2 separate regions of the Homo sapiens genome follow, and region 2 is linked to region 1. The links are contacts of gene promoters, found by promoter capture Hi-C in human tissues and cell types (Jung and others, 2019). All regions are on one chromosome and are shown on one strand. Each heading gives the region's core, a stretch centred on a gene start or on the middle of the fragment in contact. The rest is flanking DNA. Distances are from core to core; before and after follow the strand shown.

The links. The method cuts DNA at HindIII sites, captures the fragments that hold promoters and counts their contacts. A contact is called where the count stands out against the background at its distance.
Region 2: a fragment that was not itself captured here is called in contact with the fragment with the promoter of PELI2 in region 1 in 1 of the 25 tissues and cell types used here (stomach).

What each region holds. Positions count from the first base shown.
Region 1 is chr14:56,115,418-56,120,300 of GRCh38, reverse strand. It overlaps PELI2 (pellino E3 ubiquitin protein ligase family member 2), which reads right to left and starts at 1,890. Exons shown (of 6, transcript NM_021255.3): 1 at 1,564-1,890. The coding sequence starts at 1,640. RefSeq lists silencers at 1,413-1,482, 1,773-2,032, 2,073-2,132 and an enhancer at 2,263-2,502. The HindIII fragment of the contact is 5,780 bases long and covers 1-4,883 here.
Region 2 is chr14:55,080,103-55,084,985 of GRCh38, reverse strand. LOC124903318 (a long non-coding RNA gene) reads left to right here. Exons shown (of 3, transcript XR_007064178.1): 3 at 1-254. Among named protein-coding and RNA genes, the nearest start is that of MAPK1IP1L, 31 kb to the right of the region's middle. The HindIII fragment of the contact is 6,384 bases long and covers 1-4,883 here.

The DNA of each region.
Region 1 (4,883 bases), core at 641-3,140:
AAGTTCACAGTGTTAAACACACTGAAGCCAGCCACACAAACAAAACCAAACTCCACAAGATTAGGTTGGGCTGAAGTTACATAAGACAGACTAAACTGCGGCTTTTCTCCTGTCATTCCTCCCGCCTTCCTGTGAACCCTGATATTTGTCTTTGAAGTGCAATTAAGATGTAGGTGAGAAAAACACTTATCTGCAAACAGCTTCAAAATAGGTAATGAGATTTCCAATACCACCCCCACTTAATGCACTAGCAACAAAGTCAGGAAGACTGGGAAGCTTTGAGTTGTGCGGTGTCTGGAAGCTTCCCTCAAAAACTCCTCTCTTTAAATTATTTTTAAGTCAGCACTTACTTCAAGGCACTCACTTATCAAAACACGTTTTGCAAAGTTCCCTGAGTCTTCCCACAGCCATGACTCCTCATATGTGTGCTAAGCCTACCTATCAGCGCCGAGGATGTTCTGAATACAGGTCTTTCAACGCAGAAGGACAAAAGCGCGGGTTCCCAGAGCGACACATCCAAAGGAAAAAATAATCCTTTCTTCAACACTAAACCCAAGTTGTTCCTTCCCCCCAGTTTCCTGCACTTCCCCCTTCCCCCTCCCCTTTCACTGCCCACTATATCCAGTTTTAAGCCCGCAAAGCCTCTCTCCTGGCTTATTAAGGGTAAACAATAGAAATGTCACAAGGAAACTCAGGAAGTAGATGAAGTCTCTAATTGCTGCCGTTTAACGATTGTACATAATTACTATCTTCAAGATGCGGCTTTCACCAGCAGAGAGGGAGCCGAGGCGGGCGAGGCTGGCGAGCTCCCCGCAGCCGGGAGGGCATCAGCGAGGCCGGGACCGGGGGGATACGGCCCGCGCCCCGGTGCCAGGCCCCGAGCAGCCGCATCCTGTCCCTCCCCTCCAGAGCACTCCAAGCGGGGAGAAGCGGAGGGCCGGCCGGCCCGGGTCACACACAGTTCACTGCTCTCGGGCTGCGGCGGCCCGCGGCGGTCATCGGAACAATTTGCAAAGCGCAGCCGGGGATCCCACAGCCCGCGGCGGCCCAAGCTCACGGCGCCGCGCTCGGAGTTCGGGGGCGCGGGTACCACGGTCCGCGAGGGAGGTGGGAAGACGGGGCTCCGCGCCGGCCGGCCTCTCAGCTTCGGGAAGCGACCCCGCGAAGCGCCCGCGACCGCGGCGCCTCACATGGAGTCCCTGCCCGCCCTCCCCGGCCCGGACGCGGCGCGCGGGAAGTGGAGCCCCTGCCCCCGCCCCCACGATACGGCCGCGGACCCGGTGCCCGGCGCTGCCCCCGCTGGGTCGCCCGAGTTCTGGCCACTTCCTCCGCCGCGTCCTCCGCGCGGACAGCGCAGCCCGGCGTCCGCCGCAGCACCCCGAGCGCGCGCCGATGGGGCGCATCCCGCCCCCGCGCCGCCGTCCGGGCCCTGAGAGCCTCTCCTGCCGCCCCGAGCGCCCCGGCGGTCCCCAAAGAGCACCGAGCCACCCCGCCAGCCCCGCTCCAGGATGCGGGCGCTCCCCGCCCGCGCCGCTGCCCGGGACCAGGGACCCCAGGACTCACCCGAGCACCACCAGCTCCCCGTATTTCACTGGCTCCTTATTGGGGGCGCAGTGTTCCTCCTGGCCAGGGGAAAACATGGAGCCCCGCTCGGCCGCCGACGCCGCCGCCGACGCCGCCGCCTCCGCCGCGATCCCCGCCGAGTCCGCGCCGCCGCTACAATCCCATCCCGAGAACGGGGTGAGCGCGCCGGGGAAGGGCACGGCGGCGAAGGGGGCGCGGGGCGGCCAGTCCCGCTGCTGCTCCGTCGTGGCTGCGCGGCTGCTCCGCCTGACTCCCCGGAGCTCCGCGCGCCGCGGCCGCCCCGAGTCAGAGCCGGCAACAAATGGGACCCGGCAGCAGGGGGACCTGCCTGCGCTGAGCGCCGCCGCCGAAGCCCCGCGGGAGGGAGGGAAGGAGGAGGGAGCGGGCGCACGAGAGGCTGGGGCCGCGCGGGGGAGGCGGGGGCCAGCGCGCGGGCAGGTGGGAGCCGCCCCGCCCCACGCAGAGCCAGGCGCCCGCCCCCGGCCCGCGGGGCGCCCCCTCCCCCGGCGCGTGGGGCCGTCCGCGCCCACTCCCCGCCCCCCTCGGCCCGGCGGAGGCTCGGCCCCTGTGTTATGTAAACATAGAGTAAAAGGGAAAGGAAGTTCTTAAAGGAGCAGCTCTGTTTTTTTTCCTCACTTCCTTCCCCAAACTTAGAGCGCGGGGTCCTCAGCCCTCGCCGCCTGGTTCTTCAGCCGCGAAGGCCCGCGGGAGATCCTGGAAACGAGCGGCCGCGGTTCCCAAGCCCACGTTTTCCTGGCTGGAGTTCGATGGGATTAACTTCCTCTCCGAGTAGAATAGCGCTCTCTCGACGTCACTGTGTCCCGGCTTACAACTAGAGGTGTCGCACACACCCACTTGGGTGCCTCCCCTTCCAAAACCAAGCAGAAAGGCGTCTAGAAAATTAGAAGGTTTTGCCAGTTGGTGCTGGCGTAGAGGACGTTTCGAAGGCGCTTGGAGCACCCCACCGTTGCACTGGATGTAGCTACCCCGGCTTGTGGTCAATAGAGCTCCACCTGGCTTTTGGGGGGTGGCGGGGGGATGGGGGAAGAGTTGTTTTTTAATCCATACTTTATCCACTTTTCCTGTGCCTTCTTTCCATCCCCTAATACATACAAGGGGAAATTACCTGGGTGGACTTTTTAGTGAACGTAAATGTTCCTTTATGACCGTGATTTAATCAATGCACTGTTTGCTTTCTATTCTTTTTAAACTAGTTATTGCTATGGCTTTAAAATATCGTAGACTGTATAGTTTTACTGACTGCTGTTTTTCATCATACAGGATTTTATTGTTCTAACATTTATTAAGCACTCATAATGTGCTAGAAACTCTACATATTATTGCGAGTCATTGCCTCTCAACACTGTTAAATATTTAAAGAAATAAATACTGCAGAAGCTACCCTGTGTATAGTGACTGGTTGGCTATGACCCGAAGCAAAGGGCTAGAAAAAATAATAATTGCATCTGTAACCTTCCATTCCGCTGTGCTGCACCCCTTGTGTAACATTCTCTGACAGGTTATTACGGTAGTGACATGATGTTTCTGATAATTTTACTTCAGTTAGGAACTGATTTTTTTAATTGAGGTTTTAGAAATAAATTATTCCAAAGTAACTAAAGCCACACCACTGGTAAGCCAAAAATAAACTTTATTAAACAGTTAACTTATTTCAGCTAACTATAGAAATTCTGTATTTCAAATGAATATTAGTTATTCTGCATATATTACGTATTCTCTATATTTTTTATATGTAATAAAAAATCTGTTACAGTTTTAACCAGCACTCCTTCACTAAAGGGATAAATCATGTCTCCTCCCCAGTGTTGATGTAAATTTCTTTCAAATTTCTGCTGGATTAATGTTGTCTTCATGTACTCTGTGCATCTACTTACCACATAGATTGTATGACTATCAAAGATCTGTCAGAATCATTCTGCAGTTGCGCCGTCACGATTACGATGATGCCTGCCTCTGTCACCCTAGCTTCTCTAGGCCTCCTCTGTTGCTGCTTCTGCTCTCTAGGCTACCATTACCTCCTTCCTTCTCTCTTGGCCTGCTGTGCCTGTGTGCGTTGCATTGCATTATACTGTTCTGGCTGCATTTCCTCCTTGCTGTGCTTCGCATCTGCTCTTAGGAAGATAGAAAGAAATATGTATTAACCTCCTACTAAGTTCCCAGCACTAGGCTGAGAGTTTCCCATAGGATATCCCAATCTTCCAAGGCCCCCCCGTCTAGCTATCTGCCTGTGGCACCCCTGACTTCCAGAGGGACATGTCTCTCTACTCTCCCAACATGTCTTTGAGAATGTTTATAGTACTTAATCAGGTCTGTCTTTATCAGACTGACTTACAGGAAGTGTTGTTGTGAATGAGTTTTTGTGTCAATGGAGGCTTTTTATCCTAGGCAGCTCAAGGCTAGATCAGCTCTGTGAATCACTCTGAGCCCTGAAAGCTTCTGACTGGTAAGAGCAATTCTATTGATCACAGTCAAGAATACATACAGGGACCAGGCATGGAAATCCAAATGAGCAAATGGGCTGAGTGAGGACTGTGGCACATTGGTAGGGTCTGTGCCGTCTACAGGGCTTATCTGTCACTCATCTCTAGCTGATTGTTGCCATGTGACAATGACAGTTCACTCTTGCTAGATGTAATTTTTCTAAAAGCCTCAAATCCTGATTACACCAAACCTCTCAATTTTTAACTGTTGGCAACTCATTCACACTTTCAATTTTCTTGAAACACAGCATGAGCCCATCAAAACTATGTCTGTTTTTCTAGACTCTATGTACCCAAGGTCCCCACAGTTGCTTTCTCTGATTTCAAGGAAACAGACATGAGTAAAGGTAAAAACACTTCTCAAATGGTATCAAATGGTAGGGCTGGGGGGATGGCAGAGTGGTGAGGGGTGTTAACTTGATTTTCTCAGAGCGTTGATGGCTTGTGTTCCTAAAGAAGCCAGCGTGTGACTTTCTCTGTGCATCTCTTATCAGAGTTATTTGCTCACAACTTAAACCAATTAGGACATGACCCCATCATCCCCAGTTAATATTAAGAATCTGATTGTAGCATGGATTTATCCTCTCTTGAATGTAATTGTTTTAGTGAGTTGCTCCAGGCTGGTGGGACAATCTGGCTGTGCCATCTGCCAACCCACTAAGAGCCAGGGTGGGCTTGGCTGACTTGATTGCCAGGGCAGACCCTTCCCTGCTCTCTCTGCTTGCCATTCCATTTATGTCCCTCACCCCAGACCACTCTCTTGAAGAGGATGACCCGCCCACATCATCCCAGAGGGAG
Region 2 (4,883 bases), core at 1,408-3,907, 1.0 Mb after region 1:
AGCAGAGCTGCTAAGAGTATAGTCACCCTACTAGACATTTCATAGATGCCCATCAGAGCCTTTATATGCTTTGGGAAAAACCATAAAAACAGGCATGAAAGAGCATATGAAACCTAGGAGGAACCACAGCAACATCTAGTTCCACTTCCCCATCTTAGAGATGAGGAAATGGGAATTCTGAACAGTGAAAGGACTCTCCCCAGGTTCTAAACCTTAGGGTTTTCAATTAAAAACCTGTCTTGGAATTGCTGAAATGTTTGCTCAGTTGCTTCTGAATGTCTTTACCATGGAAAAAGCTGGAGCCCTGAATGATGAGCTCACCTGGACCAAGCACACATAGTTTGTCCTCCTTCAGTCTGGATAGTGACTTCCCTTCCTCCCACTGCCCCAGTGGCCTGACAGGATCCCATGTCAAGAGCATTGCCAATGCTATTGGGTCAATGTTCCAGCTTGGAACCTAACAAGAGGATAGGTTCATCTTCACTAAATTTTCCTTTTCTTTCACCTTCATTTACTCTCTTGTAAGTTGCAGGGAGGTGCAAATTCCTTTTAGGTCTCCCAGAACCAGGTCTTAACAGTGGTTATGACTTCAGGTAGTAAAGTCAAATGGTCCAGGATTTGAATTCTGTTTTTGCATCTACTTGTATGATTTGGCTTATGTGATTTGAGTGAGTTACTTGGGGAAGTTAATAAAAATAGTAGTACCTTCCTCCTAAGGTTACTGGGAAGAGAAAAGGAATGTCTTTCATGTAATAACTCTCAACTAGCATAGGGCTTGGCATATAGTAAATGTTCAAAAATATTAGCTGTTATTTTTTAAATAGATGCTCCGTTTATTTTGGAAAATTCTATTCTCTGATTTTTAAGACCATTTTATTGAAGTAATTGACATGCAGTATAAACTGAACACGTTTAAAGTATAGAATATCATGTTTTGACATGTATACACCCATGAAACTATCACCATAATCAAGTTAATGAACATATCCATAACCCCTAAAAGCTTTCTTTTTTTTTTGAGATGGGGTCTCGCTCTGTCACCCAGGTTGGAGTGCAGTGGTACGATCTTGATGCACTGCAACCTCCACCTGCTGGATTCAAGTGATTCTCCTGCCTCAGCCTCCCAAGTAGCTGGGATTACAGGTGCCTGCCACCATGCCCGGCTAATTTTTTTTTTTTTTTTTTTTGAGACGGAGTCTCGCTCTGTTGCCCAGGCTGGAGTGCAGTGGCCTGATCTTGGCTCACTGCAAGCTCTGCCTCCCAGGTTCATGCCATTCTCCTGCCTCAGCCTCCCGAGTAGCTGGGACTACAGGCACCTGCCACCATGCCTGGCTAATTTTTTGTATTTTCAGTAGAGACAGGGTTTCACTGTGTTAGCCGGGATGGTCTCAATCTCCTGACCTCGTGATCTGCCCGCCTCGGTCTCCCAAAATGCTGGGATAACAGGCGTGAGCCACTGTACCCGGCCCTAATTTTGTATTTTTAGTAGAGATGGCATTTCGCTATGTTGGTTAGGCTGGTCTTGAACTCCTGACCTCAGGCGATCCACCCACCTCGACCTCCCAAAGTGCTGGGATTACAGATGTGAGCCACCGTGCCTGGCCAAAGTTTTCTTATACCTGTTTATAATCCCCTTCTTTGTCCTCAGGTAACACTATCTACTACCTGTCTCTACAGATTAGCTTGCATTTCCTAGAATCTTACTTATATAATTGAAATAATATAGTATATACCCTTCTTTTGGCTTTCTTTATTCAGCTATGTTGTGAGATTCATTCATGTTGTTTAGAGTATCAGTTACTAAGTAGTATTCCATTTTTGGCTATATCAAAATTTGTTTGCCCATTTACCTATTAATGGACATTTTGCACTGTTTCCAGTTTGGAGATATTAGATATAAAACTTCTATAAACATTTATATATAAGTCTTTGTATGGATATACACAAATGATCTCTGACTTAACATTGATTCGACTTACGATTTTTCAACTTTACAATGTTGTGAAAGCAATATGCATTCAGTAGAAACTGTCCTTCAAGTACCCATACATTCATTCTGGTTTTTACTTTCAGTACAGTATTCAATAATTTACATGAGATATTCAACATTTTATTATGAAATAGGCTTTGTATTAGATGATTTTGCCCAATTGTAGGCTAATGTAAGTGTTCTAAGCACATTTAAGGTAGGCAAGACTAAGCTATGGTGTTTGGTAGGTTAGGTGTATTAAATGCATTTTCAACTTACGATATTTTCAATTTATGATGGGTTTATTGGGATGTAACCATATTGTAAGTCGAAGACCACCTCTACTTATATTTCTCCTGGGAGTAGAATGAGTGGGTCATTAGGTAGGTATATGTTTAACTTTTTAAGAAACTGACAAATTGTTTTCCAATTGGTCATGCCATTTTACATTCCCACCAGTAGTGTAGGAGAATTCCATTGTCTACATCCTCACCAACAGTTGGTACAGTCAACGTTTTTAATTAAATTAATTTTATTTATTTATTTATTCATTTTTATTATTTTATTTTATTTTTTTTGAGACAGGAGTCTCACTCTGTCACCCAGGCTGGAGTGCAATGGTACGATCATGGCTTACTGCAGCCTCAACTTCCCAGTCTCAAGTGATCCTCCCACCTCAGGTTCCCAAGTAGCTGGAACTACAGGCACATGCCACCACACCAGACTAAGTTTTTCTATTTTTCATGGAGACAAGATCTCACTATGTTGCCCAGGCTGGTCTCAAAATTTTGGGCTCAAGTGATCCTCCCACCTTGGCCTCCCAAAGTGCTGAGACTACAGGCGTGAACTACCACGCCCAGTCCTGTTTTTAATTGTATGCATTCTAGTAAGTGTGTAGTGGTATCTCTTTGTATCTCTCTCCCCAAGCCCTGGCAGCCACCAACCCACCTCTATAGATTTGACTATTCTGAATATTTTATATACATAGAATCACAGTATATGCAGCCTTTTGTGACTGGTTTCTTTCACTTAGCATAATGTTTTCAAGGTGCATCAAGTTATAGCATGTATCAGAATTTCATGTCCATTTATGGCTGAATAATATTCCATTGATGGGAATACCACATTTTGTTTATCCATCAGTTGATGGACATTTAGGTTGTTTCTACTTTTTGGCTGTTATGGACAATGCTGCTATCAACATTTGTGCACAGGTGTTTGTGTGGACATATATTTTCATTTTTCTTGGGTGTATATCCCTAGGAGTAGAATTGCTGGTCATACAGTAACTTTATGTTTAACCTTATGAGGAACTTCCAGGCCAGTGGTGAGGTTCAAGCAAGGGAAGGAGGAGGTTCTGGGTCAATGGTACATATTTGCTCTATTGGAGAGAAGCAATTGGCCAAAATTGTAGCTTGTCATTAGTCTGTTGAACAGCCATGGATTTTCATTACTTGGGCAGAGAACACATGAAGCCAGGCTAGATATCACCAATGGGTGACCATATTAAAGACTTGTGAATATTGGTATTTAATGTATCACTATTTAGTGCCCAGGTCCCCCTTATGTATGTTTATTACCACGTGTACTCTTGGTTCTCCCAGCTTTTTTCATCTATGTTTAACCCACACATTTTCTAGATGCCAATTACTGATTTATACTTGATATCTTATGAGTTCATCCCATTTCTTCTATAAAATAATTGAATATTTTGAAACTATATATCAAATGCATATTAAACCCTTCCCCTCTGTAATTCATTTCTGCATGACACCACACTTACTTTGTACACAATGCTGAATAAATGTTAAATAAAAAATAAGCAGGGTGGGACCTGTAATCCCAGCACTTTGGGAGGCCGAGGCAGGAAGATTGCTTGAGCCCAAGAGTTTGAGACTAGCCTGGGCAACATGACAAAAACCCATCTCTACTAAAAATACAAAAATTAGCTGGACATGGTGGCACACACTTGCGGTCCCAGCTACTTGGGAAGCTGAGGTGGGAGGATCACCCAAGCCCGGGAGGCGGAGGTTACAGTGAGCCGAGATTGCTCCACTGCACTCCAGCCTAGGCGACAGAGTGAGACTTTGTCTCAAAAAAAATTAAAATAAAAATGAGCAATAATCTCTGGTAGTCCTGCCATAGAAATAAGCAGTTATTCAAACAAAAATTTCCTGTGATTAAGTACTTGGGAAATACTGGTTTTTTGTTGTTTTTGTTTTTTTTTACTATAGGACTTGCTAGCCCCTTAATGTACTAATGTGGTGGTACTTCTTCATGAATGGATTTCACATTCAGTGTCCTCAAACTTACTGATCCATGGAACCCTTTACTCAAGGTGCAGCTCTAGAAATTGGTGTTGTATAAAATACACCTTGGGAAATGTTGCCTTGGGGATTGCTCTGTGCAAGGCCTTGGAAGTATAGCTGTTTACTACAGCAGCCATAGACTGAACAGCTGAACTGAAATTCCTCCGGGTACCTTTTATAAAGTATAAACATCCCACTTTTCTGGTTTGTTTTTTTGTTTTTTGTTTTTTGCTTTTTTTGGTCTCACTCTGTCACCCAGGCTGGAATGCAGTGGTGTGATCTTGGCTCACTGCAACCTCCGCCTCCCAGGTTCAAGCAATTCTCCTGCCTCAGCCTCCCGAGTTGCTGGGACTACAGGCACACGCCACCATGCCTGACTAATTTTTTGTATTTTAGTAGAGACAGGGTTTCACCATGTTGCCCAGGCTGATCTCGAACTCCTGAGCTCAGGCAATCTGCCCACCTCAGCCTCCCAAAGTGCTAGGATTACAGGCGTGAGCCACTGCGCCCAGCCTATTTTTAAAAACAATAACAAGAAGCAAGATAGGGAAATTGAAGTGACTTGGGGTATGAGCTGACTAAATTATGCAATCAAGGGTTTTTCT